4 separate regions of the Homo sapiens genome follow, and regions 1, 2 and 4 are each linked to region 3. Evidence: promoter capture Hi-C in 16 types of primary human blood cells and fetal thymus (Javierre and others, 2016). All regions are on one chromosome and are shown on one strand. Each heading gives the region's core, a stretch centred on a gene start or on the middle of the fragment in contact. The rest is flanking DNA. Distances are from core to core; before and after follow the strand shown.

Region 1 (7,386 bases), core at 2,323-4,822, 1.3 Mb before region 3:
AAGCGCGGCGAGTAGCTCGTGTTACCGCCCGCGGCTCTCCCTCCACACCTCCCCGCAAGCTGAGGGAGCCGGCTCCGACCTTGGCCAGTGGAGACAGGGGCTCCCACAGTGTAGCGGCGGGCTGAGGGGCTCCTCAAGGGCGGCCAGAGTGGACGCCAATGCCGAGGGGGCGCCGAGAGCGAGCGAGGGCTGCCAGGGCTGCCATCAGACTTTCACCTCTTAAGGGGACCCTAGGATCAAGGATCAGTAGGCTGGAGACCTTGTCGGAACGCTGTGGAGGCAGCAAGCCTTTGACTTTCCTTTGGACCTCTCCAGGTTTCATCGCTTTCGCTGGTGTAGAAAGTAAAAGAGAAAGGACGTATAATCATGGCTACTGGAAAACGGCAGAAGGACTGGGATCACAGGGCTGCCGCCCAAGTACAAGGCAGTGGCCACCCAGCTGGCTTACACAAGGTTTTGCTGGAGAATTGGGGGTCCTCCCAAAGCCTGGAGTTGCAGTTAGAGTTTACCACCTTGGGATGGCACATGGAGGTCCGAAGAACGGATAGACAGCTCAACAGGCAGCCACAGGGCCTGAGGCAGGAGTCTCCCTCAGCGGGGACATTCAGCAACTCACTCAAGACTGACTCTGCTCAGGCTGTCTCGGCTTTCACAGAGGTAGGGTTGGGAGGAGGGTGGCTCAGAGAGGCTGGGGAAGGCCACCAAGTACCACAGCTTCTCATGGCATCACACAGGGACAAGGCTTGGGGGCCCTTTTTAAGCAGCTTGACCCAGGATGCTCCAGTTTCATGCCTGCTGCTTGAGCCTATCTGATAACAGACTTCCCGAATTCATTCTCAGGAGAAGGCCCTAGTTGCCCAATAAATGGCATAATGACTCAGGCCTGGAGGCAGGAATGCTCCTCTGTCTCCCTTTCCCCTTTGCATATTTCGAACCCCTGTCGAAGAGAATGTGGGCAGTCGCATGCCTGTGGCGATGTGTGTTTGTGTCCCATAATGCTTGGGCCCCTACCCCTTTGATTTTGTGAGCTTACTTTATGTGTGTGTATGTGTGTGTTTGTGTGGGTATGTGTAAGCGTGTTTTTGTCTGGGTGTGCATGTATCTCTGTGTGTGTGTTTGTGATTTTATTTCTTCTTCTGGGGGTCTCTTGTAAGTGCCTGCATGTGTGTCTGTGTGTGCCTCCCTGTGTGAGTGAGAGTGGGCAAATGAACACGTGGCAGAGACACCCTGCCTGCACACACTGAAATGTGAGCAAATGAACACGTGGCAGAGACACCCTGCCTGCACACACTGAAATTCAGATTGATGTGTTCACATGGCTTGACTGGAAAAAAAGGAGTTAGGAAACAACTTGCCAAGGCTCCTACTGGCTCAGGATTACACTTACAGCATCCAGAAGGAGAATGGGAAATAACAATGAGCCATGAGGTATTGGGTAAAGGGTGCGTTCACCATGACATTTCACTTAAAAGTAACACGTGGGTAGCCTTTTGGTGGACCAGAGGGACTAAACTCATGACCTTCATCTGTGCTCCTTAAAGAACGAATGTGAAGCTTTCTCCAGGCCTAATTCTGCAGAGGGACATCCCACATCACCAAGGAGCAAAAGAAGAAGCAGTCTGCTAGAACACGTGCCCACCCAGATCCGCAAGTGAAAGGAAAAACAGAAGCAGAATCAGAAGCAGAAGCAAAAGCAAAAAAAGAAAAAGAGGCAAAGGAGAAGGAAGTGCAGGGGGAGGGGGAGGAGGAGTAGAAGGAGGAAAAAGAAGAAAAAGAAAAAGGAGGAGTAGGAAGATAAGAAGGAGTTGGAGGAGGAGGAGCAAGAGGAGAAGGAGGAGAAGGAGAAGAATTAAAGAAGAGGGGTAGGAGGAGGAAGAGGAAGAAGAATCAGAAGGAGAACAGGAAGTGAGAGGTCCATGCCACTGTAGCTGTCCCGAAGGATCTAGTTTAGGAGGGCCTCAACGCGTGGTGACATACAACGAGGGGCACGGAGCCACTTCTGACATCCGGCTTAAAGGACACACAACCAGGAAGCGTCTTGTTGATGGGGTATTTCCTGAGTAAGATCAAAAGCTTTGATCCACAAGTAGGCCTGCAGAAGCTACAGAGAACACAGGTGCTGGCTGAACCTTGCCCTGAAGATGTCATCAGCTGACTGCAAGGGGCTACCAAGCCCCAAGGCTACAAGGCCAAGGCAGGGAAGGACCGCCCAAAAAAGAATAAGATGAAAAACGGGGAGGAATTGGACACCAGGGAAAAGAGATAATCAGCCACCCACTGCAATATGGAGACAGGGCAGAAAGGAGAGGGAAACGCCAATTTCTCCTCGCAGGGGTCAGCTAGAGTCCTACTAATTTCCTTAGGAAAAGTAAGCCTGTTTTCCCTAACGGTGTCCCCGCGCCCAGCTGACCCTGCCTTCCAGTCTGCTCCTGGAGCAGAAGTGGAGAAAAAGTAAAGAGAATGAAGAAGAAAAAAGTGAAGGGAGAAAAACTCCAAAAGTACACAAAGAATCAGTGAGCAATGAGATTGACAGCGAACTGCAATGCAAAGTGCCTCAGATGGACAGCTGGCAGCACTATGAGTGGCCTCTTGTGGCCTCACAGAGGAAGAGCCACCAGCCAGGAGAAAGCATCAGCCCCTCAAGCCCGGGTCTGCACCGCGTGGGCACAGAGGCCTGTTGGGCCAGGAAGCTGCCCTGCTCCCTGTGGCCCCCACCCCTACCCCATCCTACTGTTGCCGGTTCCCCCAAAGTGACCACATAGATGGGAAGCCCTGCTGTAGGTGAGATGGGTGCTCCTAGGCCAGTTTCTTTTTTTTTTTTTTTTTTTTGGTGTTTGTTTTGGTTTTTGGCACCAAAAACAGAAAGAGGGAAAGAAAATGGGGGAAGGGAAAGACAAGACTGCTGTTTGTGGAGCCACATTGCCATCTAGTGGAAGTTGTTTCTGAACACAACAGGATGCACGGACACCTGCCTTCTGCCAGGAACAGAGATCAGCGAGGATGTGCTTAGACTATGTCTAAGCCTGGGTTTCCCCCACCGGGGTTCTGAGCCCTTGAAGGAAGTGTACCTGGCATTGGGACGCTTTGGAGAAGCAACTACTCTAGAGGCCCCAGGACAGAACAGCCAGGCAGCCCCAAGACCAGTCAGCCCAGAGGGCGGAGCTGGCCCGGCAGCCATGTTGAGATGGACATAAACGAAGCCACTGGCCGAGACGGGGGCCGTTTACTCTGGTGTCTTTTGTGGGGAGTTCCGGGGTTCCCTTGGCTGGAGCCACGTGTTGGCAAGGGGGCCCCGATCCTCCCGGGGAACAAAGGAGCTTCGGGATACTGGAGACGTGGCAACCCAGGACCAGCAGTACCTGGAGATGACCAGGGGAACCCATGGTGGGTCGCCCCTACCTGCCCTTTTTTTCGGAGAGAGCTGTGGAACCAGGGAGGCATCCTGGGAATGAGCACAGGCCAAGGGCCAGCTTGGAGTTCCTCTCTTGTCCTGCTTCAGCCTGGGGGCTCCATGCCGCCATCTCTTTTGCGCTCGTGGGGTTTCCCCAGCACTTGTGCCCAGCTGCCTCCGGTTTCTAGATACAGTTTCCGCTTGATGGCAGTATGGCTCCACAAACGCCAACTACAACTGTAACCCTGCCACTTCAACTCCAGGGCCTCCGCCTTTTCCCATGTGAAAAAAGGTAAAGAGGAAAGAGAAACAAAAAAAAAGACAGAGGAGTGAAAGGAATCAGTCACCTGGTCCCAGATTGATCACCAAACTCATGGGACCGTGTGACCAAGGACCAGGACCAGTAGGCTGGAGATCCTGTGGGAATCCTGTTTAGGGAGCCAGCCTTTGCCCTTCCTTTGGCTCTCTGCAGGTTTCATGGCTCTTGCCCGTGCAGAAAGTAAACAACAAAAAACATGATCATTACTGGGACACCACAGGAGGACTAGGATCATAGGGCTACTGCCCCAGGACAAGGTGCTGGTCACCCAGCTGGCTTACACAAGGTTCTGCTGCAGGACTGGGGGTCCTACGAAAGCCTGGAGCTCCAGGTAGAGTTTACCGCCTTGGGCTGACACATGGAGGTCATCAAAATAGGTGGACTGCTCAACTGGAAACCACAGGGCCTGAAGCAGGAGTATCTCTCAGAGAGGACACTCAGCAACTTGCTCAAGTCTGACTCTGCTCAGGCTGTCCTGGGTTTCACACAGATGGGGGTGGGAGGAGGGTGGCTCAGGGGTGCTGGGGAATGCCACCACACACCACAGATTCTTATGGCATCACACAGGGCCAAGGCTCCCAAGGGAACTCTCTCTGTCTCTAACACAAAGTGAGGTTCCTTTTTAAGCAGCTTGACCCAGGATGCTCCAGTTTTACACCAGCTGCTGGATCCTATCTGTTAACAGACTTCCCACATTGATTCTCAGGAGAAGGCGAGAGTTGCCCATCAATCAATGGCATGATGGCCCAGGCCTGGAGTCAGGAATTCTCCCCTGTCTCCTGTTCCCTTTGCACATTTAGAACCTGTGTGGGAGAAATTGTAGGCAGTCTCGTGCCTGTGGTGGTGTGTATGTGTCTGTGTGGGAGAATGCTTGGGCCTGCACCCCTGTGCCCCTGTGAGGTTTCTTGTTTGTGTGTCTATGTGTGTGTTTGTGTGTGTCTGCATGTGTCTCTGTGTGCGGGTGTGTTTGTGATTTCATTTCTGAGGTCCCTAGTGAGTGTGTGTATGTGTATCTGTGTCTATGGTTTGTGGGTGCCTTCCTGTGTGAGAGTGGGTAAACTGGCACATGGCAGAGACAGCCTGCCTGTATACACTGAAATCCGGATAGTTGTGTTCACATGGCTTGACTGGAAGGAGAGGAAATGGGGGAAAACTTGCTGAGGCTCCTACTGGCCAAGATTACATTATTAGATCGTCTTCAAGGAGAACAAGGTAGAAGGATGAATCGTGAGGTACTGGTAGGAAGTGCATTCAGAATGACATTTCACTTAAAAGTAACACATGGGTGGTTTTTTAGAGGACCAGAGGAACTGAACATGTGACCTTCATCTCTGCTCCTTTCAGAACAAAAGTGAAGCTTTCTCCTTGCCTAGCACGCAGAGGGACATCCCCCATTACCAAGGAGCAGAAGAAGCAGTCTCCATAGAACATTTGTCTCGCCAAGATCTGAAAGTGAAAGGAAAAGAGAGAGGAGGAGGAGGAGGAGGGAAGAAAAGAAGAAGAAAAAGGAGGAGGAGGTGGAAAGAAAGAAAGAAAAGAAAAGAAAAGAGAAAGAAAGAGGAAGAGGAGGAAGAGGAAGAAGAACCAGATGGAGAAAAAGAACAAGAAATGGCAGCTTCATGCCACCTCAGCTGTCCTGAAGGATAGAGTTCATGGGTGCCTCAATGCGTGGTGACATACATAACGAGTGACAAAGAGACAACAGTGACATCCCAGTGAAAGGACACACCACCAAGAAGCTTCTTGTTGATGGGATCCCTTGTGAGTCGGATCAAAAGCTTTGATCCACAAATAGGTCTGCAGGGGCTACAGAGGACAAAGATGCAGGCTAAACCATACCCTCTGGATGTCATCTGCAAACCGCAAGGGGCCACGAGCCCCTAGTCTACAAGGCCAATGAAGGGTAGGACCCCAGAAATGGGAGGAGAGAGGAAAAACGGAGAGGAAAAGGACACCAGGGAAAGGAGGTAATCAGCCACCTATGGCACTAGGGAGAGAGGGCAGAAAGGAGAGGGGCACCCCGATTACATCTGGCAGGAGTCAACTGAGGTCTTTCTAATTTCCTGAGGAAAAGAAGGCGTGTTCTCCCTAAATATGTTCGCTTGCCAACCGGACCCTGCCTTCCAGGCGAATCCTGACCTCCCCAAACCAGAAGTGGACGAGAAGTAAAGACAGTGAAGAAGAAAAAAGTGAAGGAAGAAAAACTCCAAAAGTATACTAAGAATCAACGTGAGCAATGAGGATGACAGCGAACAAGAATGCAGAATGTCCCAGATGGACAGGTGGCAACCCGAGTGACCTTCTGTGGCTTCACAGAGGAAGAGCCACCAACCAGCCAGGAGAAAGTGTCAGCCCCTTATGCCCAGGTCTGCACTGCATGTGCACAGAGGCCTGTTGGGCCAGGAGGCTGCCCTGCTCCCTGCTGTCTCCACCCCCAACACATCCCGCACCCTCCGCCAGCAAATATTGGGCAGCCAGACAACAAGGGATGAGGAAGATGAACAAGATGGAACCGGGAAGCTGAAGAACCCTGCCCTCTGAGAGTTGCCTGCACAACAGGACCCAGGTATGAGTGGAGGTGCCTGGGCAGACGCTTGTGAGTGAGTATGAGTAGGGACACATATATGTGCCTGAGGACATTTGGAAGCACAGGTGAAGACAGGAAAAAGTTGAGATGTGATGGGAGTTAAACGTTAAAAACGGAGACCTCTGACAATCAGAGTCACAATGCCACCCCTAAGGATGCAGTCCAGATCTTCCTGCATTCTTATCTTCCTGCTTTTTCTCTAGGCACGCGCCAGTCTCCTTCTTAGGAGGCCTATGCAGATTCATAGAGAAATCTGCAGTGGCTGGAATGCAGACCTACACACCCACACACCCGCCACCCTGTAGCCCCTCACACCTTCCCCAGTGCAACCTCCCCACATCATGCCACAGCCCCAAGGGTGGGATTTCTTGAGGATAGGCTGGTTCATTGGGACCCCCTGCACAAAGAAGAATCCAGAGGGAAGGAGGAAGGCAAGTTTCCCCAAAGTGACCATGTAGGTGAGGAGCAATGCTGAAGATGAGGTGGGTGCTCTTTGGCCGGTTTGTTTCTTTGTTTTTTTTATTTTGTTTTGTTTGTTTGTTTGTTTTTTGAGACAGAGTTTCACTCTTATTGCCCAGGCTGGAGTGCAATGGTGCAATCTCGGCTCACCACAACCTCCGTCTCCCGGGTTCAAGCGATTCTCCTGCCTCAGCCTCCCCGTAGTTGGGATTACAAGCATGTGCCACCACGCCCAGCTAATTTTCTATTTTTAATAGAGACAGGGTTTCTCCATGTTGGTCAAGCTGGTCTCGAGCTCCTGACCTCAAGTGATCTGCCTGCCTCGGCTTCCCAAAGTGCTGGGATTACAGGCGTCAGCCACCGCACCCAGCCCCAGTTTCTGTTTTCTGGTCTTTGTTTTGTTTGGTTGCCAGCAAAAGGAGGGAGAGGAAGGCAAGGTGGGGGAAAGAAAAGGGGTGACTGCCATTTGTGGAGCCACAGTGACATCCAGTGGAAGGTGTTTCTGAACTACAGGCTGCAAGGAAACTTGCCTTCTTCCAGGCACAGACAACAAACAGTGAGGATGTGCCAGGCTGGGTAGACTCAGCCCAAGGCAGGGTTTCCCCCCACCGGGGTTCAAAGCCCTTGAAG
Region 2 (7,154 bases), core at 998-3,497, 1.8 Mb after region 3:
GGCTGACAGAGGGGATGCGAGGTACCGGCATTAGCCATGGCCAAGTGGCCCTAAAGAGAGAGTAGAGGCCGGGCCTTCAGCGTTTCTCACTGGTTCGAGGAAGGCGGCCTCAGAGGAGAGGGAAGGTGAGGGGCGGGCAGGCAGGCTTCGCGGGTAACTACTAGGCGTTGCATATATATGTTTTGATATCTAAATGGTACTACACACACACACACATTCATTTCGACTAACTGCTTGTTTAAAAATCTGAGAATATGTCTTGTAGATCTTCTTATATCCGGGAATCCAAATTTATGTTGGGTTTTAAACAGCTGCATTGTATGATTGTACTACAGTTTATTTAACCATTTCCCGATTGATATACATTAGCTTGTTTCTCTGTTGGGGGAGGGAGGGGACTATTACAAGCAATGCCATAATGAATGGGTTTGTGTATATGTATCATGCCATGTATGAGTATTTCTGTAGGAGAAATTCTTAGAAGAGTAACCGCTGGGTCAGGGTGTATATGCATTTTGAATTTTGATAGATTTGTCCAAATTGCCTTCCCAAAAGCCTGTACTAATTTACACTCTTTAATGTTGTGCGAGAGTGCCTATTTTTCCACAGTTATGCCAACACGTATTATCAATCTTTGTAATTTTAGCCAATTTAAAGGGCAAAAAAATCGTATGTCATTGTTTTCATTTGCATTTCCCTGATTACTGGCGAAATTGATCATATTTTTGTTTGTAAATAGGCAAATATCAATAGTTTATATAGGCAGTTTTCCTATCTATAAGCAATAAGCATTTTGAAATTTTAATAATAAAAAACCTGTTCGCAATAGCAAGAGAAACGAATAAAAATACCTAGAAGTAAACTATAAAACTTTATTGACGAATACCATAAAAGAACATCTGCATGAAAAGAGAAGGAATACTATGCTTCTGAATAAGAAGGCTCAATATTTTAGTGATGTCCATTTTTCCTATATTGGTTTATACAGTTGATGCAATTTCAATAAATATACCAAGTTTTTTTGGAACTTACTATGATTCTAAAGTTCATCCGGGGGAAAAAAATGGCTAAGAATAACTGAAAAAAAATATTTTAAAACGTAAGTAAAGATAGGGATATTTGTACTACTGGCTATTAAAATGTACTCTAAAGGAACTATTTAAATTAGAACGGACAGAACAATGCATTAGAATGGAAAAGCCCACAAATCAAGCCAGATTGGATCCCAAGATTTATTGGAGAAACACTGTTGGCTAGACGTGGAAAAACTGCCATATTAAAAGCTTCAGGCATTTCCCCCCATCCCCGAAGCTTGAATATTCCTTTGAGGGCAGACTCCTTTGTTTGGAGAAAACCACTTTATTGGATCTTTTTGGTTATGCCAAGGTAAAGCTTCAGTAGTTAAAATTGGTGGCTTTGGAACTAGAACTAATGATATGGCCTTTAGTTAGATTAAGATGGATTCAGGTTAGCCTGCAGTGCGGCGAGGGAAGGAGTCTGGATAATGTAGGTTTAAAAATTTTTTTCCCTATCTAATGGGCAAAAAATGTTATGTCATTGTTTTCATTTGCATTTGTGTGCTTACTGTGAGATTGAACGTCTTTTAAATGTTAGTCCAGGATAATATGTTATTCCTGGAGACAGGTAACAATGGGGGACTCTTTGCTCCGCTTCCAGAATGGAGTTTGGCTAATTGGTACAGCCTTGCCCGGAAGCGTGAGAATAAACAGGTTGACTTTTTAAATTTTCCTCAAGCACTAGGCTCTAGACACCTAGATCGGGGGCGGAGGCAGTTTTCAGGACATGGCCGAGATTTGGCGCTGAGCTGTGTCATCGCGAGGTTTGGCAGCCAGCTCCGCAGTGGGTCGGAAACCTCGTGGTAGGCGAGATCCCTGCAGGACGGGAGGGTTCCTCCCTTCCCCCGAAAAACTCCCAGTCATTTTCATGAAGCTCCGCCTTTCTCCTTTTTAGGAGTGTGCACCAGGTCTCGCGATATCTCATGTTTCCTAAAGGCGAGGCGCGGGCGGCATCCTGCGGTGAATTAAGAAGGTCTCGCCGAGGCTAAAGCGTAATATCGCGATAGTTCTCAACGCATGCGGGAGCCGGCCGTGGTAGGTTGGCTCCGCCCCTCACTGCTTCGTTAGGTTGTGCGTCATTTGCTTTTCGCTTCGCGTAGGGTGAAGCTGTAGCTACTTCGGCTTTGGTGGGAGGGAGGAGGGGTCTGGAAAGGGCTGGGCTCAGGCTTTTCCCGTCCGGTAGAGGTTCTCGCGGGATCGCGCGGAGGCGGCGGTGGCTCGGTTACTGACTGCAGTAGCCGCGGAGGCGGCGGCAAGGTCTTCGGCTCGTGCCGTTCTAAGCCGGAGAATTCTCGCGGGAGCAGGGTTACGTCCTCGTGGGATTCGTTGGCGGTGGCTGAGGTAGCTCGCGGGTGGGGGGTGGGGGGGCAGTGACTAGGGTCGGTCCGCCTGCTGTTAAGATGGCGGCGGAGGCTGATGTCTGTCCGGCCAGGACCCAGCACAGAGGTGTTGGCTATCTGCCTTTATGACGCCTCTGAGGTGCCCAGCGTTAAGGAGGTGACGATTGGCGAAACGCCGGGGTGCCGGTAAACTAGACCTGAGGCGAAGACCACCTCGTTTCTTGTCCGTTGAGGCGACACCATTTCCTGGGCCTCGGCCGCGTGTGGGCCCGCCTTTGCCCCACCGATCGGTCAACGCCTCCGTTGTCGCCGCCGCAGTGGGCGGATTGGGAAGGGTGGGAGGGGAGTCTGGAGTTCGCTGGGGAGTGGGGTTGGGGGTTAAATTGAACGGTGGGAAAGAGGAGCAACCAATGAAGAGTGGCCCCTTTCCCCTACCTTTTCTGCCGGCCAACCTCCGTTCTCAGCACCTCCGACGACCCGGATGAATACCCTGGTTTTTCTCGAGGTGGGGTCATCTTCGCCAACTCTCGCGGTTTTAGAGCTAAGGCTTAGGGTTCAAGCAGTAGTGTCACTGGTGTACTCCTCCTCCTCTCCCCACACCCCTCCTAATTCTGTCGTCCCATCTAATCTTCATCTACGTGGATAGTTGAGGCTGGTATTTAAGGGAGGGGGGAGTCAAAGCTTTTCCCTGTGACTCCTTCCCCAGTTCTAAATTCGAGTTTAGCCTAAGTCCTCTAGCCCGCTCTGTCTCCCCCTTCCATTGGTCCCCTTGGCGCAGGCGTTGAATAGAGCTTATCCTGTTGCCTGCATTTACTCCATCTTTGTGGATGGTGCCATAGTAGCCTTCCATTTCCTCAAGTCTTCATGTTTGTATGACTCTGATCCGGATTTCTTAGCTCTGCATGCTGCTAAACCACTATTAAGCGAAACTATGAACGGGTCGGTGTTTGGATATTGCAGTTTAAGTGGCCTTTTCGTTTACGGCCATTAGCCTTGCCTTCCTCATTCCTCCCCCTCAGAAGGCTGTAGAGGATAACTCTCCAGTAAACCCGCTTTCTGTCTTCCCTGCCTCTTCCATTTCCCCTGCAAGCCTGGGAACCGCCCCTTTTCCCTGCCTTGCTCTGAGTTTCTGGAGCCTCTTGGTCTGTGGACATCTATTTTTGCTGCTGAGCACCTCTTACCTGCTTCTCACTTCTTAATCTTTCTATCCCCCACTCCCCATACTCCTTTTCCAGGAGCTGAATCCCTTAGAAGGAAGATAACCCTCCTCTCAGGCTCCACTACATTTTACCCCTTCCATTTACTAGAAAACAGCATTGATTGTCCTGCCCCCCAGTCTGCCCTGTTCTTTATTTCCTCTTCCCCCCATGCCACCGTTACTATAGGCAGTTAATTCCCTATCATTTGTTTCTCCTTTGTAGATTACATGTTCAGCATTGTTTTCTTTTAGCCCCAGTGTTGCATAGATTGAGGAGATACCAACATTCCCCAGTCATAGGCGGCGGTCTGGTATGGTGAAATTAATAGTGTGTGTTTTGGGTGTGTTTTGGGTTCACATTGAACCTTGTGACCTTGGGCAAATTTTCAGATTCTCAGTTCATCTATATAATGGGAATAGTTGTGCTTACATTAGAGGATTGTTGCTAGAATTAGTTAAAATAAAATAAAATAAAATGTTTAGCTCATGGTAGGCACATAATAAATTAGGATTACTTTTTGGTGTAAGAATGCATTGGTAGATGTACCTGTGTCATATGCTAATTTTATGACCTGGGAAAGAGTAAGAGATTTTTGTTTCTTTAACTGTACATTCTTGGTGTATTTCTAGGCCAGATCTATAACGTTTATATTTTTTTTCCTCATAGGCCAAACTTTTTATCTCCAGTGGTTCATGATGTTTGAACGTGATTCCCACTCTTTGTTTCCTTCTAATGGTCTAGGAATTTCAGTGCGTAATCACTATCCTGGAATGACCACCAGCCATAATGTTCCTGTCAAGAACCACACCCAAGTGTTCTACCTTTTGGAAGGGGTGCCTCATGCCCTGCCTACTCATTTCTTCCACTCCTTCAAAGGCAGTCTGTCCTGTCATTCACTCTACAAAAGTAATTTGGTGTCATGCATTTCACAGTGGTAAAAGGAACTTCTGTTAGCTAGTTTTGAAGTATTCATGCTACTTTTCACCTCCCTCATTTGTTTGGTTCCTCAGATCAGTGTGGGGATCTGCTATTTGGCATCTTCTTACCTGAGCAAGATAATTCCTGTCCGAGAGAGAAAGATCATTTGGAATACCCAGCTTCTTTTCCATAGCAAATTACTGCTGGCTCTTTAATACACTACTTCCTGTTGTGTTATTGCCATTTTATATTTTCTAACGTACTTATTAAACAGATGTGACTATTTGACTTGGAGAAAGTTTTCCTTACTTTTTTTTTTTTTTTTTTAAGATGGAGTCTTGCTCTCGCCAGGCTGGAGTGCAGTGGCGCGATCTCGGCTCACTGCAACCTCCGCCTCCTGGGTTCAAGCGATTTACCTGCCTCAGCCTCCCGAGTAGCTGGGACTACAGGCGCGCGCCACCATGCCCAGCTAATTTTTGTATTTTTAGTAAAGACGGAGTTTCACCACGTTGGCCAGGATGGTCTCGATCTCCTGACCTCGTGATCCGCCCGCCTCGGCCTCCCAAAGTGCTGAGATTACAGGCTTCCTTACTGTTAATATATTGATTAGACCAATATTAAAGTGTAGCATTTTACAATTTTTTTTTTAACTAATTCTAGCAACAACCCTTTAATACAAGCACAACTATCCCCATTATTTTACTTCGGCTGGGTGATGGGAATTGAAGTAGAAACGTGGTGAAAAGTTTACTAGGATTTAAAATTTACAGGAGGTAACCATCCCACAATTAGCTGTATGTGGACTCTAGTTTCGAACTTCAGTTCGAAATAAACTGCTTTATTTAATTTGAAGTGCTTTGTAGGTAATAAAATTTTCTTCCATTTTCATTGGAGGGCAGGAAATCACTTTCTGTTTTGAGATTTTGCATTGGTGCATTTTACCGTGGGTTAAGCAGTGATCACAAATTTATTAAACCTCAATTTCAATTTGACCCTTATTGAGCAATAGAATAAATCTGGGAATGATAATCTAGGTGTGACCTAAAAGTTTAACTTATTCTAGGTAGATCTCTGAGAAGAGAGGAAGGAGTGACAATACCAAATAAAAACTTTGTCTAAGGTTCAATGGCAAAGTTCAACCTGAGTTGCCAGGATGTTTATCGTTTGTCTCCCAATATGGCCAAAAAGCATGTATGAAGGTGAAGAATAATTTTTATATGTACAGTTGTTGTTTTTTTTCACAGAAACAATGAAACAAATACGTCCTTAGTGTTTATATTGAGGGTATAAACTTGTCTAAAAAATAAACTGTCTTCTATAATTTCATTTGGGTTGAGAACTCAGTTTTCAGGAATGTTGTCTAAGCGTTAGAAGTATTAGAGTTGTTGGTTCTGAATTCCTCAGTTACTTCTCAAAGCAGGTCCTAAAAAATGCAAATAGATATGTAAGGACTATTGCTTTAGAAATAATAACTAGTTATGTTTGAACATAATAGAATGGTTAACCCTCCTCACACACCCTAATAAATGTGTTGTGTATCTCACTCCTCTCCCCCAACTTTTTTTTTGTAGGTCCTCCAGCAGCCTGACCTGAGTGGGTTAGTGATCCAGAGAAACCAGCAGGCCAACTTGGTCAGGAAGGTTCGGGAAGCTGTTGGAGCAGTGTGGGGAATTTCCCACCAGGATGAGTATGATTGGCTGTGATTTTAGGTTAGTTTTTGTAAATCTTGTGGGAAGTATTTGTATTTTACTTCCTGGAATGGAGATAGTAGGGGTGGATGTATTCCCATTCTGTAATGGAGCTACTTTGGTTTCTTCCATTCTCTGGATCTGATGTGGTACTGGTTGCTTCTTTTTTTAAAGTGGAGCTCATTACTGAATTAAAGGGAATTGTTTAAATGAATGATGTCTGTACATGATTTTTTAAATCACCCTAGGCATCGTTCAAAAAATAAAATTGCAAGTCATTATGTCTAACCAGTTCTTATTAAAGTTACGAAAAATTTCAAACATGCAAACATTGAATAGTATAATAATCCCCCCACTTACCCATCACCAGCTTTAATAGTATCAACTTGCACATTCTATTTCATCTATACTTCTGTTTGTTTGGTTTTTTTTAATTTTTTTAAATTGAGATGGGGTTTCATCGTGTTGCCTAGACTGGTCACAAACTCCTGGGCTCAAGCCATCCTCCCTTCTTGGCCTCCCAAAGTGTTGGGATTACAGGCGTGAGCCACCAGGCCCAGCCTGTTTCATCTATACTTCTAACCACTGCCCCCCTCAATGGATTATATTGGAATAAATCCCTGTCATATTTATTTGTAAAATACTTGTTTGTATTTCTAAAAGGCAAGGGCTCTTTAAATATAAGATCAAAACTATTATCACAACTGAAAAAATTAACAGATATTTAAAAATATCAAATATAAAATGTTCAGATTTCTGATTTTTTTTTAAGCTTTGTTTTTTTTCTTTTACAGTTTGTTTGAATCAGGATCCTGAGAAAGCACATTTATTGCAAAGCATTGATACAGCTGTTAAATCTATTTTAATCTGCAGGTTCTGTCTTTTGTTTTTTTTTTCTTCCAATTTATTTGTTGAAGAAATTGTCCTATATAT
Region 3 (6,865 bases), core at 2,354-4,853:
TCAGGATTCCAGCAGTCATCTCTCTGACAGGGCAGCTGGAGGTATTCTCCCAGTCTTTCTCCTCTTATACTGCTGGTTCTCTGACTGAATTAAGCTTCTTGGCCCGTACTTGCAAAGAACCATTTTAGACCATTGGATGATAACTTGCCACCAGAGCCGAAGAAAGCATGGATTCAGACAGGGTTGGGGAAGACATTACCTCTTCCCCTGAGCTAGCCGGAGGAGCATCCTGTTAAATGGGCAGTAATCACACCGGCCTGGCAGAGATAATATGTGGCATGCCTCTGGGACAGGCAGGTGCTCAACAAATCTTTTTACTCTGCAGCTCTCCCACTTACTAGCTGACTGACCTGGGGCTGACTGACTGCTGTAAGCCCCCTTGGGTAAAAGGGCGGGTCGGGGGAGGAATGTAATCCGGCCTGGTCCCCAGAAGGATTGGATGCCGCGGCCAGGGTTACTCACACCTCTTCCCCTGCCTTCACGTGGTGTTTCTTTTGAGGACAGAGACCTTGAGAGTGCACTAGCAGGCAGAGACCGGCAGCAGGGTGGCCTAGAGGAAAGCACTGTGGGTTTGCAGGGAATGGACATAGGGTCTTGTCTAGGATCTCTCTCTTGCCACTTCTGTGGCTCTAGAAGAGAAAGTCACCGAGGAACCTGGACCTCAGATTCCCACCTTGTTTACCTCTGGAGGTGGTATTGATAAATACAGCTCCTCCCAGGGCAAAGAACAGGCCTTTTGATTTTCTGCAGCTCCAGTTTCTAACACACTGTCTGAATCCCAGAAGGCGCTCACCATTTTCTGGCTTGCTGAATGAATTTGGAGCTGCTGATGGGGTCATAGTTACTACTTTTGTTTGAAGCCTCCTTGGCCTGCAAGCTGAGGAGAGTGGGTCCCTGGGCCTTCTCCAGAAGGTCATTTGCTAGCCTACCCTGCACCTAGTGACGTTACTTTGCACACAGCTGGAAGCAGCGTGAGCCTGGATGTCAAGAAGGAAGAAGGTAGCCTGACCACTCTTTTGTGTGTTATAGCTGCTACCATGAGCCCCACAGGGCTAGGTTGGGCACTTGTCACTAGTGCTCCCCAGCAGGGGACCTAGTTCATGCAGTGCTTAGCTCTTGGAGAAAAGGTGGTAGGATTTGCGCCTGATCCCACATGACTTAGTATAGCATGGGCCATCGTGCCAGGTACCAATCCGGACTTACTCCATTGCCCCTTTGCCCCCTTGGACACACACACTTTTAAACAATGTGTGCACCCTAACGAACCATAGTTCCTGAGAGAAGTGCAAGGTTACCTTTCGGAGATGCCACAGGTGGAGCCTTTTCTCTGGCTCATCCAGTATCTCAGAAGTTCTGCTTTTTTATAGCCTTTTCTCGAATTATTTCAGGGTTGTTATTATTAACCATTTTTATTGTCATTAGTTTAAAGTCAGCCACAACACCCACCCTTTGAGGGTCTGCCCCGCTCACTTCTTCCCTTGCCTCATTCCTTGTTCTCCACTTTCCCCTTCATATAACCTTAACAGTTCGGTGAAGAGTTTATTTCCAAATGTCCACGCTACCTTCAGTGCCTCCATTTTTACTCCCTCCCCTTCTTCTCTATTATTTCCAAACCTCAGATTGTCCCCTCACCAAGATTTTCTGACGGTCTCATCTTTTTTTATTTCTGAAGTACCCCATGACAACCTTTTCCCCTGCAACCACCCCTTCTCTCTGCCCTCCTCCTCTCAAGATGATTTTTGTGTATTTTCTACTTCCGTGGCAGGCACCCTGTGATGTCCTCTTCTTTTTGCCAGTGCTCCCTCCCCTATGCTGGGTGGAGTATCCAATCAAATATCTAATACATAATATTTTCATCATATATTCTGATCGTATATTTCAGTCCCCCCCAAACTTATTTAAGTGTCTCTTGAATTTTCACACATCCTATGGTGCTCCCTTCCCCGGCCCACTCCCCAAGACAGGTCACATAAGGTTTTTTACATTTTCATGGCACTTCAGGCTCGTTCTCTATCCCAGCATTTACTGCACTGCCAGTTTACCTATTTTTCTTTCCCACATAATCTAGAACATTCTTTGGACCTGGAGGATGTGTACTAGGGAGTATCCCTAGAATCTAGACTGGTGCCTCACATAACAGGTGGTCAGAAAATGCGCAAGATGTACTATTCGTTAGGCTTTTATTTTTCTCTATGTTCTGCAGTAACTAAGGAAAATCATGGTAAATGTCAATCTTCACACAACAGCAGACACAAAGGGTTTCAGAAACGTCAGATATGAAGAAATCCTCCATCCTTCTTCAACATTTTACTGGGTATTTCAACTTCAAAAGAACAGCTTATTTCTATAAGTGCTGTACAAGATCATAGATTATGATGGAACGACTTCATTTTAGAACGTTAGCAAAACTGTTATACTAAATGTCAATGACAGGAAACAAAGAAAAAAATTTGTTCAATTATATTTTTAAACATATTGTTATTCTCAACAAACGGAATTTTAAAACGAATACAATTTTCCATTATCAAAAGCAAACACTCTATTTCGCAGTTGAACAATGATCACTGATCACAAATATCAAATACAGTGTCCCCCGCCCCCAATCGACATCATTTTCAACTTAGGACCCTGGCATCTACTCCTTGGGGTACCTGTGACTCTCTTTTACACCCCCAAGGGTCTGCCTCAGATCTACTTAAGGGGCGGAATAACCCCTAGCACCTGAATTGAGGATAGCCTCAACCTCTGCATCATCGTCCGAATCCCAGTCATAATTACAAGGCCAGTCTTTAGAGCATCGGTTACGAACCCTTGCCACAAAATGCATGACTTTCAGTTTGCTCGATTCCACGTGTGCTCGGGGCCCCCAGAAGAACTCATACTCCACCGGACTGCTACGGGGCACCGGTTTATAAATCAGGTACCCTCTGCGCACAAACTCTTCTGTGACGATCTTCTTCGGATCTCCAAAGATGCTGTGCTGACGTCCAGGCTGCATTCCTAACTTCCCCAGCACTTTCCAGACCAGAGCTTCCTTGGCGCTGTTGCCCATGATGAAGATGAGCGCTAATATAGACATCAGGAGACTTTTCTTGGTGCCCTGAAAATTGCTCCGGGGCACTGAAGGCTTTTGTGCTTGGGCAGTGCTCGAGGCTTCTTCAGGGGTGGTAGAGGCCTCCTCTGGAGTGCTCGGGTCTTCCTCGGGGCCGCTCAGGTCGTCTTCGGGGGTGCTCGCTACCACAGAGGCGGCCATAGGGGTCTCGGAGGCCTCTGAGGCCTGGATTTTGCGATTGTTGCGGTTCTCTTCTGCGGCTCTCGCATTACGGCGGCGCCGACTCTTTCGTCCCCGAGGCATGTCTCCTGCTAGAGGCTCAAAGCTTACAGCAGTCCTAGGGAAGGATGCTTGTAGCCTCTTCAGGAAGCAACAGCTTTATACCGTAAGAAGCTGCTGCCGCTGAAGCTACCAATGTCAATAGAGTCTTTGTAGCAATAAACAAGCCGTTCTCAGCTACAAAGGGTAGTTCCCACGCCAGCTGACTTGCGCGAGCAGCCGCCGCCAGCACTTGCCGCAGCTGCAAGCCCGCGAGAAAGCTCAGCAAAATTGGCCCCGCCTCTCCTGCCACGCACACTCCTAGCACCAAAGAGGAAGTAGGCTGGTCCTCCACAGGGACTTCCGCTAGCAGATAGGAAAAGGGGCAGGCAGCGACAGGGGTGGGACAAGGGCAGAAATGACAGCTAGAGATTGGAGGGGCCTGGAGTTTGCAGAAGAGAAAAAAATAGCTTAAAGTTTCTGTATTTTCAGCCTACTACAAACATTCCAAGATTGGCTCGACGGTCTAGGGAAGGAGTGCGTCGGCTCCATTCCCACTGACGACGGGCTGTGTGTGTGTTGGGGGTTGGGAGGCCAGGGGTGGCGGGAGGGTGTATTCTTGGAAGGAGTCAGCTGTCTCCAGCCTTCCTTTCCTGTCTTGGCTTACACAGCGCGTTCATTCACTCGCCCTGTTTTCAGAAGGCATTTGTGTGTATACTAATCAATTTGTGGTCCCATGTAGGACCCGGATAATATTGTTATGGCAGATGTGCTGGATGATGTGAGGAGATGGGACTGCAGAAACAAGCAGGGTGAAAGAGGTGCAGAGCCTTTAAAATGTGGTAGATATATGCACGATATATATACTGCCCTGCTTTTATACATACATACATACATACCTATATCGTGCATATATCTACCACATTATGTTTATATACAGTGCATATATCTACCACACATATATGTATGTATGTATGTATGAAAGCAGGGCAGTGACAGGATCAGAGGAATTGCATTTGTGCAGCCTCTCAGAAAAGCAAACTGTTTCCTGGCAGACCACATAGGAAGCAATTGGAATAAGAAGCACTGGGAACTAAAGTATGCCTTAAGGCTGTTGCCATGGGGATGGAGAGGCAGAAAGACATTTTAAAGGTGACCGTTGAAGGGCTTTGCAGACAGAATGGATGAAGTGGGGAATGTGGAGGGGATGATGGAGTTCAGATTGGCTCCAAGGTTTCTAGGCTCCAGTCTTCCTGGACTCCTGATTTATTTTGCTTCTTTCAGAGCATACTCTGAACTTTATCCACTGCTTGCTTTTGCTCACTGTTTGCTCTGCCTGACCTGTCTTCTCAGCCTTCTCCAACTATCTAAATTCCATTTGACTGCTCACAGACCTGTTTCTCCCTGAAGCTTGTCTTGATCTGCCCAAAAGGGTAATGAGTCCATTTTTACTCCATTGAGGAAAGCCCTATAACTAGCACTCTATATCTTTCTTATGTCATTCAAGGTATTAGTTTAAGCAAGTCACTTCTCTCTAAGCCTGTTTTCCCATCTATAAAGTGGGGCTAAAGTACAGCCCTCATAGGGTTGTGAGAATTAAATGAGATAAAAAATGAAAAGCATTTATTACATGGTAAGCACAGATTTTGCCTCTCAAGGTTTTCCAAGCGGTGTGTGAGTGTGGCATTTAATAAATGCGTGCTGAAGGAATTCATGATGGAAAAGATTTTATAGGTGTTCTTAACTGAACTCTTAAGAAACAAATGAATACTTTATGCCTGTCTTGCTGAAATTTTCTTTATAATTAGAGCCCACCGAGACCTCCTGTTGGGTAAGTTAGCAATAAATCAATTTGGTCAAGCAAAGAAAGCACCTCTCCAGGACACAGAGCACTCTTGAGCCAGCCCTCCGTTTGGGATAACCTTTGCACGCGTTCTGGGACATGACCTACTCAAAACAGTAGTCTGGCTCCATCTGCTGTCCCACATTCTGAGAATTCTCGCAGTTTCTGGTCCATTGATAATTGCTCTGAATTGTTTTTCAGTACAGGTATGAACTTATTTTACTGTTTCCAGGAATTTGGGTCTTGCATGGAAGTCTATAGCATGTACAATCCTACCCTCATGAAACAAAAATGGGAGGATTACTTTTGCAGTTTATTTGCTTGTTTTTAGCATGAATTTTTTTTTACTGCGACTTAATCTCAAACGTAGGGCAAAGAAGAGAGATTAATATTATAAACACCAATAGCTAGCTGTATAAAATTTAAATATTAGGCCCTACTTACTGTTTATCTTTTATATATTGGATATGGCAAAACCCTCCTATTACGTCTTCCCTGACCCACTCTGCTCTCTCCTTCCCCACTGTGCTCCTCTATAATGAAGTCAGCAATTATGCCCATGGAGACTTGTATATATTTGCTACCTACTTCTGTGTCTGTACACAATATAGAATCTCTTCCTTTATTTAAAGCACGTCTTCATAATGTATACATTGATCAACACTTTGGTTTTCCAGCTCAACTTTATATTTTTTATGTTTACCCATGTAAATACATGGAACTCTAGTTCATTTATTTTAATTTTGTACATTTCATCATTTTCAATTTATCCTGTTCCTAATGATCCACGCCTATGCAGTTCCCATTTTTCCAAAACAAAATAATACTCTTATTAATATTTGTGCGCATGTTCCCTATGAACATGTGCATGCATTTCTCTAGGATCAACATCAACGAGTAGGGTTGCTGATGTGTTGGCATGTATATGTTTAGATAGAACACATGGCTTTCCACTTTGTTTCATTTATAAAAATCAAACCATTCCATATTGAATTTCCAGGCAAACCTTTTTCCTAATTAATAATGAAATCTCCTCAATTTATACCTCTAATTCTTTCATTCTAGTGGCTGAATGTTATTCCTTGCAATGGATTTACCATAATCTCTTCAAGTGTCTGCCTGTTGGCTGGGCGTACTGTATTTCCAACTTATTTAATTTTCTTTTTCTATTATTATTATACTTTAAGTTCTAGGGTACATGTGCACAACGTGCAACTTTGTTACATAGGTATACATGTGCCATGTTGATTTGCTGCACCCATTAACTCGTCATTTACATTGGGTATTTCTCCTAATGCTATCCCTCCCCCTACCCTCCACCCCACGACAGGCCCCAGGGTGTGATGTTCCCCTCCCTGTGTCCAAGTGTTCTCATTGTTCAATTCCCACCTATGAGGGAGAACATACAGTGTTTGGTTTTCTGTCCTTGTGATAGTTTGCTCAGAATGTTGGTTTCTAGCTTCATCCATGTCCCTACAAACGACATGAAATCATCCTTTTTTATGGCTGTATAGTATTCCATGGTGTATATGTGTCACATTTTCTTAACCCAGTCTATCATTGATAGACAGTTGGGTTGGTTCCAAGTCCTTGCTATTGTGAACAGTGCCACAATAAACATATGTGTGCATGTGTCTTTATAGTAGAATGATTTATAATCCTTTGGGTATACACCCAGTAATGGGATCACTGGGTCAAATGGTATTTCTAGT
Region 4 (6,832 bases), core at 160-2,659, 1.3 Mb before region 3:
GAAAGGGAGAACAAAAATGAATAAGAGAAAACCGGGAAGCTGAAGAACCCTTCCCATTGAGAGTTACCTAGATGTGGGGATCTGAGTGTGAGCACAGGTGCCTGGGCAGACACCTTTTAGTGAGTATTGGTGGGGATGCATGTATGTGCCTGAGAACATATAGAAGCACAGATGAAGACAGGAAAAAAGTTAGATGAGATGGGAGTTAAATATTACAAATGAGGATTTCTGACACTCAAAGTCACCTTGCCACCCCTAAGGACACAGTCCAGATCTTCCTGCATTCTTTTCTTCCTATGTTTTCCCTAGGCAGGCACCAGTCTCCTTCTGAGGAGACCTGTGCAGATTCATAGAAGAATCTGCAGCGGCCCACACACAGGCCTAAACACCCACACACCCCTCCCCCTTTACCCCCTCACACTGCCCCCGGTGCTACAAATCCACAGCAAAAGCATAGCATTTCTTGAGGATAGGCTCCTCTGGATTACTGGGACCCCCTGCCCAGAGAAGAATCCAGAGGGTAGGAGAGGCAGACATCACTCCTACTGTTGCAAGTTTCCCCAAAGTAACCACATAGGTGGGGAGCCCTGTTGAAGATGAGGTGGGTGCTGCTTGGGCAGTTTCTTTGTTTCTTTGTTTTTTTTGTGTGTGTTTGTTTTGTTTGGTTGGCAGCAAAAGGAAGGAGAGAAAGGCAAAGTGGAGGAAGGAAAAGGGGTGATTGCCATTTGTGGAGTCACAGTGCCATCCGGCGGAAGGTGTTTCTTGACAACAGACTACAAGGACACTTGCCTTCTTCCAGTCACAGATATCAGCGAGGATGTGCCAGGCTGGGTAGACTAGGCCCAAGCCAGGGTTTCCCCCACTGGGGTTCAGAGCCCTTAAGGAAGTGTACCTGCCATTGGAACTCCATGAAGAAGCAGCTAAGCTAGAGGCCCGGGGACAGAACAGTCTGGCAGCCCCAAGACCAGTCAGCCCAGTGGGCGGAGCTTCCCCATCTTGAAATGGGTTTAAGAGAAACCACTGTTCACTGACTGCCGAGACTGGGGCCATTTGCTCTGGTCTCTTTTGTGGAGAGTTCAGGGGTGCCCTTGGCTGGGGCCACGCAGGGACAGGGGCACCCTATCCTCCCTGGGAACAAAGAAGTTTTGGGATGCTGGGGTGGGGCAACTCATGCCAAGCAGTCTCTGGGGGCTGCCAGGGGAACCCATGGTGGGCCGCCCCTGCCTGTCCATTCTTACAAAGAGAGCTGTGGAGCCAGGGCGCTATCCTGGGAATGAGCATAGACCATGGGCCAGACAGGAGTTCCTCTCCCAGCTTCAGCCTGGGGGCTCCACACCACCATCTGTCTGGCACTCCCGAGCGTTCCTCAGCACATGAGCTCAGGTGCCTCCCATTTCCAGAAACAATTTCCACTTGATGGCACTATGGCTCCACAAACGCCAAGTACAGTTGTAACCCTGCTCCTCCACCCTGAGGGCCTCCACCTTTTCCAATGTGAAAAAAGCAAATAGGAAGGAGAACGAGAAAAAGACAGGAGGGAGAGAAAGGAACGAGCCAACTGGTCCCAGGTTGACCACCAAAACTCACAGGTCCCAATGACCAAGGACCAGTAGGCTGGAGACCCTGCAGGAATACTGTTTAGGCAGCCAGTCTTTGCCCTTCTTTGGCCTTCTCCAGGTTTCATGTCTCCTGCTCCTGCAGAAAGTAAAAGACAAATGACAGATAATCATGGGCACTGGGACACAAGAGGCTTGGGATTAAAGGGCTGCCGTTCCAAGACAAGGTGCTGGTCACTCAGCTGGCTTACACAAGGTTTTACTGCAGGACTAGGAGTCCTCCCAAAGGCTCTAGGTAGTTTACCGCCTTGGGCTGGCAGATGGAGGTCACCAGAACGGGCAGACTGCTCAACAGGGAGCCACAGGACCTGAGGCAGGTGTATCCCTTAGAAAGCACACTCAGCAACTCGTGCAAGTCTGACTCTGCACAGGCTGTCCTGGCTTTCACACAGGCAGGGGTGGGAGGATGTGGCTTAGGGGGACTCAAAAAGGCCACCACGTTGCCACAGATTCCCATGACATCACAAAGGGCTAAGGATCCCAACAGGACTCTCTCTGCCTCTATCTGAAAGGGGAGTCTGTTTTTAAGCGGGTTGACCCAGGATGCTCCAGTTTCACATCTGCTGCTGTGGCCTTTCTGATAAAAGATTGCCCGCATTCATTTTTGGGAGAAAGCCAAGTTGCCCAATCAATGGCATGAGGACCCAGGCCTGAAGCCAGGAATGCTTGCCCATAGCCCATTGCTTGTCAGAGATTAAGAGCCCGTATGAGACAGTGTGGGCAGTCTCATGCCTGTGGCTTTGTGTGTTTGTTTACCTCTAAGTGTGAGAATGCTTGAGCCCCAACCCCTGTGCCCATGTGAGGTTACCTGTTTATTGGTCTGGTTGTGTATGTGTGACTTTATGTGTCAGTGTGCCTGCGTGTGTGTGTCTGCATGTGTGTTTGTGTCTGCATCTGCATGTATCTCCATGTGTGTATGGGTTTTGTAATTTCATTTCTGGTTGTGGGGTTTCTTGTGAGTGTGTGCATGTGTTCTGTGTCTGTGGTCTGTGAGTTCCTGCTTGTGTGAGTGAGAGTGGGCAAATTGGCACATGGCAGAGACAGCCTGACTGTACACACTGAAATCCGTATCGTTTTGTTCACCTGGCCTGACTGGAAGGAAAGGCAATAGGGGAACAATGTAACAAATTGCTGAGGCTCCTACTGACTCAGGTTTACACATTTAGAGAGTCCACAAGGAGAACAGGAAAGAATGGTGGGCTATAAGGTACTAGGTACAGGGTGTGTTTACCATGACATTTCACTTAAAAGTAACACGAGGACAGCTTTTTGGTGGAAAAGAAGGACTGAACTGGTGACCTTCATCGCTGTTCTTTTAAGAAGAAAAGTGAAGCATTTCTTGAGGCCTAGAGCTGCAGAAGGACATTCCCCATCACCAAGGAGAAGAAGAAGCAATCTGCTAGAACATTTGCATGCAGAAATCCAAAAGTGAAAAAAAAAGGAAAGAAAGAAGAACAAGTAGAAGAAGAAGGAGAAGAAAAGTAGAAAAAAAGATGTAGAAGGAGAAATAGAAAAGAAGGAGAGAAAGAAAAAGAAGGCAAAAAGAGAAGTCAAAGAAGAAAAGAAGAAGGAGAAGGAGGAGGAAAAGGAAAGAAGGAGAGAAGAAGAGGAAGAGGAAGAAGAAGAAGGAGAAGGAGGGAAGGGGAAGAAGAGGAAGAAGAAGAAGAAAGAAGAAGAGGGAAAGAAAAAGAAGAAGAAGGAGAGGGAGTTGGAGGAGGAGGAGGAGGAAAGGAGGAAAAGAACAATAAAGAAGAGGAGCAGGAGTAGGAAAAGGAAGAAGAAACAGAAGGAGAAAAAGAATAGGAAGTGGGAGGTCCATGACACTGTAGCTCTCCTGAAGGATCTAGTTCAGGGGGACCTGAATGTGTGATGACATACACAACGAGTGGCAGGGAGCCACCGGTCATGTCCCACTTAAAGGACACACAACCGAGAAGCTTCTTGTCAATGAGATCTTTCCTGAGTGGGATCAAAAGCTTTGATCCACAAATAGTCCTGCAGGAGCTACAGAAGACACAGGTGTAGGCTGAACAGTGCCCTGAGGATGTCATCAGCAGACTGCAAGGAACCACTGAGCCCCAAGCCTACAAGGCCAAGGCAGGGAAGGACCCCCAAAAAGAGAGGAAGATGAAAAACGGGGAGGAAATATATATCAGGGAAAAGAGATAATCAGCCACAAATGGCAATATGGAGAGAGGGCAGAAAGGAAAGGGAAATGCCAATCACTCCTTGCAGGGATCAGCTGGGGTCCTTCTAATTTCCTTAGGAAAAATAAGTTTGTTTTCCCTAAGGGTGTTCCCTAGCCCAGTTGACCCTGACTTCCAGGCTGATCCTGACCTCCCCAAACAAAAGTGAATGAAAAGTAAAAAGAGTAAAGAAGAAAAAAGTGAAGGGAGAAAACCTCCAAAACTACACAAAGAATCAGAGTGAGCAATGAAGTTGAGAGTGAACTGGAATGCAGAGTGCTCCAGGTGGGCAGCTGGCAGCCCAAGTGGCCTCCTGTGGGCTCACAGAGAGGGAGCCATCAGCCAGGAGAAAGAGTCAGTCCCATAATCCCAGATCTCCACCACATCCGCACAGAGGCCTGTTAGGCCAGGGGGCTGCCCTGCTCCCCGCTGCCCCCACCCCAACCCCATCCTGAACATTATGCCAACAAATACTGGGAAGTCAGACAGAAAGGGACAAGAAAGATGAAGAGGGAACCGGAAACCTGAAAAACTGCCCACTGAGAGCGGCCTAGAGGACCAGACACAGGTGTGAATGAAGGTGTCTGGGCAGACACTTATGAGCATGGGTGGGGATACATGGATGTGCCTGAGGACCTATGCAAGCACAGATGAAGACAGGAAAAAGTTGAGACATAATGGGGGTTAAAAGTTAAAAACGAGAACCTCTGAAACTCAGAGTCACAATGCCACCCCTAAAGACACAGTCCAGATCTTCCTGCATTCTTTTATTCTCGCGTTTTCCCTAGGCAGGGCCAGAGGTGCGCCCGTGGTGGATGCTACCTACATATGAAAAAAGGACCTGCATTTGTTGACAATTAAAAGAAATCGGGTGAAGCCTGTTCCATGGTCATGTGGGTCTTCTCCACGGAATGCCCAGAGAGTGCAGGCCCATACACGAGATTGACGTTCCTCTTGTGAGAGTGGTTCACGCACCCCTGATTGTGGGAATCATTACCCATGGGGTAAATTTTCTGTCCTGTGAAACTCTGCCTGTTCCCAGTGCAGCCTACACATCAAGAAAGACTTGTAACAAGCAAAGACAGAGAACAGTTGCAATATTCAGAGAGCATTGTGTTCCAAGCTGCTGCCCAGGCACTGAGCAGCATGGGTAGCATATGTAACCTTTAGAGCAACACGGTCATGGCTTCGCATCCCAACATGGGCTTTGTATGATGGACCACGTCAGGCTTTCTTATGTCTGCCTGGAGACCCTAAAGGGCCGGCATAATTTGTCCTCGACCATCTCATTCATTTTCTGGGATGAATATCCAGCAAGCACCAGAGTTTACCTTGAGGACCCCAGAGAGCTCTGTATCAAACCAAGGCACAATTGCCCAACCACAAATTAAAACACTCCACATAAAATCTCTCCTTTCACACGCAGCACAGCAACACAGACAGGCCCAGGTGAAAGCGAGCTACCCATGCACTTTGGCAGAATGACCAAGATGCCAGAACAACTAACTGGTGAACCACCACGTTCCAGTAAGCATGCATGCTCTATCAGACATGCCAAGTGGCTCTCTCTCCAGAAGAGCCAACTGTGAAATTCACCCAGAAATACCCCTCCCACTTCTGGGCACGAATGAGTGCCTGGGCTCCAGTGAGAGAGGTCGCTGAAGGTCTCAGACAAGAGTCCCTCCCATCCAGTCCCATCACAAGAAATATCTGGCCCGAATCCCTGCAGCTGGATGGGTCAACAATGTATGGATACCTGTTTGAACTGGCTGCTTTCCATCCAAGCTTTTAACCTTTCAGCAAGAAAAAGACTGCTGCCTAGAGACAAGTGTGGTGTGCACCAGCATTCGGCCTGGTCTCTTCTTAGGAGACCTGTGCAGATTCATAGAGGAATCGGCAGGGGCCCACACGCAGGCCCACTCACCCACACACCCCTCCCCCTGTACCCCCTCACACTGCCCCCAGTGCAACCTACCCCCACCATGCCACCGCCTAAGGGTGGGATGTATTGAGGATAGGATCCTCTAATTCACTGGGACCCCTGCCCAGAGAAGAATCTAGAGGGAAGGGGGAAGGCAGAGAACCCTCCTACTGTTGCAGGTTTCCGCAAAGTGACCTCGTAGGTGGGGAGACCTGCTATAGGTGAGGTGGGTACTCCTTGGACAGTTTCTTTCTTTGTTTCTTTGCTTTTGTTTTTTTGTGTTGGTTTTGTTCAGTTGGCAGGAAATGGAGAAAGACGAAGGCACAGTGGGGGAAGAAGAAGACATGACTGCCATTTGTGGAGTCGCAGTGCCATCCAGCAGAAGGTGTTTCTGAACATGACAACAGGCTGCGGAAACACTTGCCTTCTGCTAGGCACCGAGGTCAGCAAAAATATGCGGGGCTGGGTGGACTCTGCCTGAGCCAGGGTTTCCCCGACCAGGGTTTAGAGCCCTAGAACAAAGCGTACCTGCCGTTGGGACCCCTTGGAGAAGCAGCTACTCTAGAGGCCCAGAGACAGAGCAGCCATGCAGCCTGCAGACCAGTCAACCCACAGGGTGGAGCTGCCCCAGCAGCCATTTTGAGATGTGCATAAGGGAAGCCACTGGCAACTGATGGATGAGAATGGGGCTGTTTACCCTGGTCTCTTTTGTGGGCAGCTCCGAGGTGCCCTTGGGGGGCCACAGGGGGAACAGGGAGCCCCTACCCTCCCGGGAGGAAAAGGAGCTTCAGGATGCTGAGTGTGGGGTGACTCATGCCTGGCAGTTCCTGGAGACTGCCAGGGGAAGCCATTTTCTGTCCTATGAAGCTCTGCTTGCTCACAGCCGGCCTGACTGCCCTTTCCTAAAGACAGCTGTGGAGCCAGGGTGCCATCCTAAGAATGAGCCCAGGCGAAGGGCCAGCAAGGGGTTCCTCTCTCATCCAGCTTCAGTCTGGGGGCCACACGCCACCATCTCTTTTGTGCCCCTCGGATTTCCCCAGCAGTTGTGCCCAGCTGCCTCCCGTTTCCAGAAATAGTTTCCGCTTGATGGCAGTATGGCTCCACAAATG

What was found. The method cuts DNA at HindIII sites, captures the fragments that hold promoters and counts their contacts. A CHiCAGO score of 5 or more calls a contact.
Region 1: a contact is called between a fragment that was not itself captured here and the fragment with the promoter of MAGEH1 in region 3, in 1 of 17 cell types (fetal thymus). The highest score is 9.9, in fetal thymus.
Region 2: a contact is called between a fragment that was not itself captured here and the fragment with the promoter of MAGEH1 in region 3, in 1 of 17 cell types (fetal thymus). The highest score is 7.4, in fetal thymus.
Region 4: a contact is called between a fragment that was not itself captured here and the fragment with the promoter of MAGEH1 in region 3, in 1 of 17 cell types (fetal thymus). The highest score is 6.3, in fetal thymus.

Annotation. Positions count from the first base shown.
Region 1 is chrX:56,760,146-56,767,531 of GRCh38, reverse strand. The region is part of intron 2 of NBDY (negative regulator of P-body association); the gene reads right to left. Among named protein-coding and RNA genes, the nearest start is that of NBDY, 35 kb to the right of the region's middle. RefSeq lists enhancers at 203-432, 2,916-3,275, 3,271-3,772, 3,736-3,855, 3,876-3,925 and 1 more. The HindIII fragment of the contact is 2,994 bases long and covers 2,076-5,069 here.
Region 2 is chrX:53,679,137-53,686,290 of GRCh38, reverse strand. HUWE1 (HECT, UBA and WWE domain containing E3 ubiquitin protein ligase 1) reads left to right here. Exons shown (of 84, transcript NM_031407.7): 2 at 1-21; 3 at 6,105-6,242. Among named protein-coding and RNA genes, the nearest start is that of HUWE1, 4.0 kb to the left of the region's middle. RefSeq lists an enhancer at 149-228. The HindIII fragment of the contact is 1,705 bases long and covers 1,395-3,099 here.
Region 3 is chrX:55,448,865-55,455,729 of GRCh38, reverse strand. It overlaps MAGEH1 (MAGE family member H1), which reads right to left and starts at 3,603. Exons shown (of 1, transcript NM_014061.5): 1 at 2,164-3,603. The coding sequence starts at 3,355. The coding sequence ends at 2,696. It overlaps MIR4536-2 (microRNA 4536-2), which reads right to left and starts at 4,235; the gene lies at 4,148-4,235. MIR4536-1 (microRNA 4536-1) reads left to right here and starts at 4,148; the gene lies at 4,148-4,235. RefSeq lists enhancers at 3,141-3,190, 3,341-3,390. The HindIII fragment of the contact is 1,343 bases long and covers 3,380-4,722 here.
Region 4 is chrX:56,793,573-56,800,404 of GRCh38, reverse strand. The region is part of intron 2 of NBDY (negative regulator of P-body association); the gene reads right to left. Among named protein-coding and RNA genes, the nearest start is that of NBDY, 68 kb to the right of the region's middle. The HindIII fragment of the contact is 4,293 bases long and covers 1-3,555 here.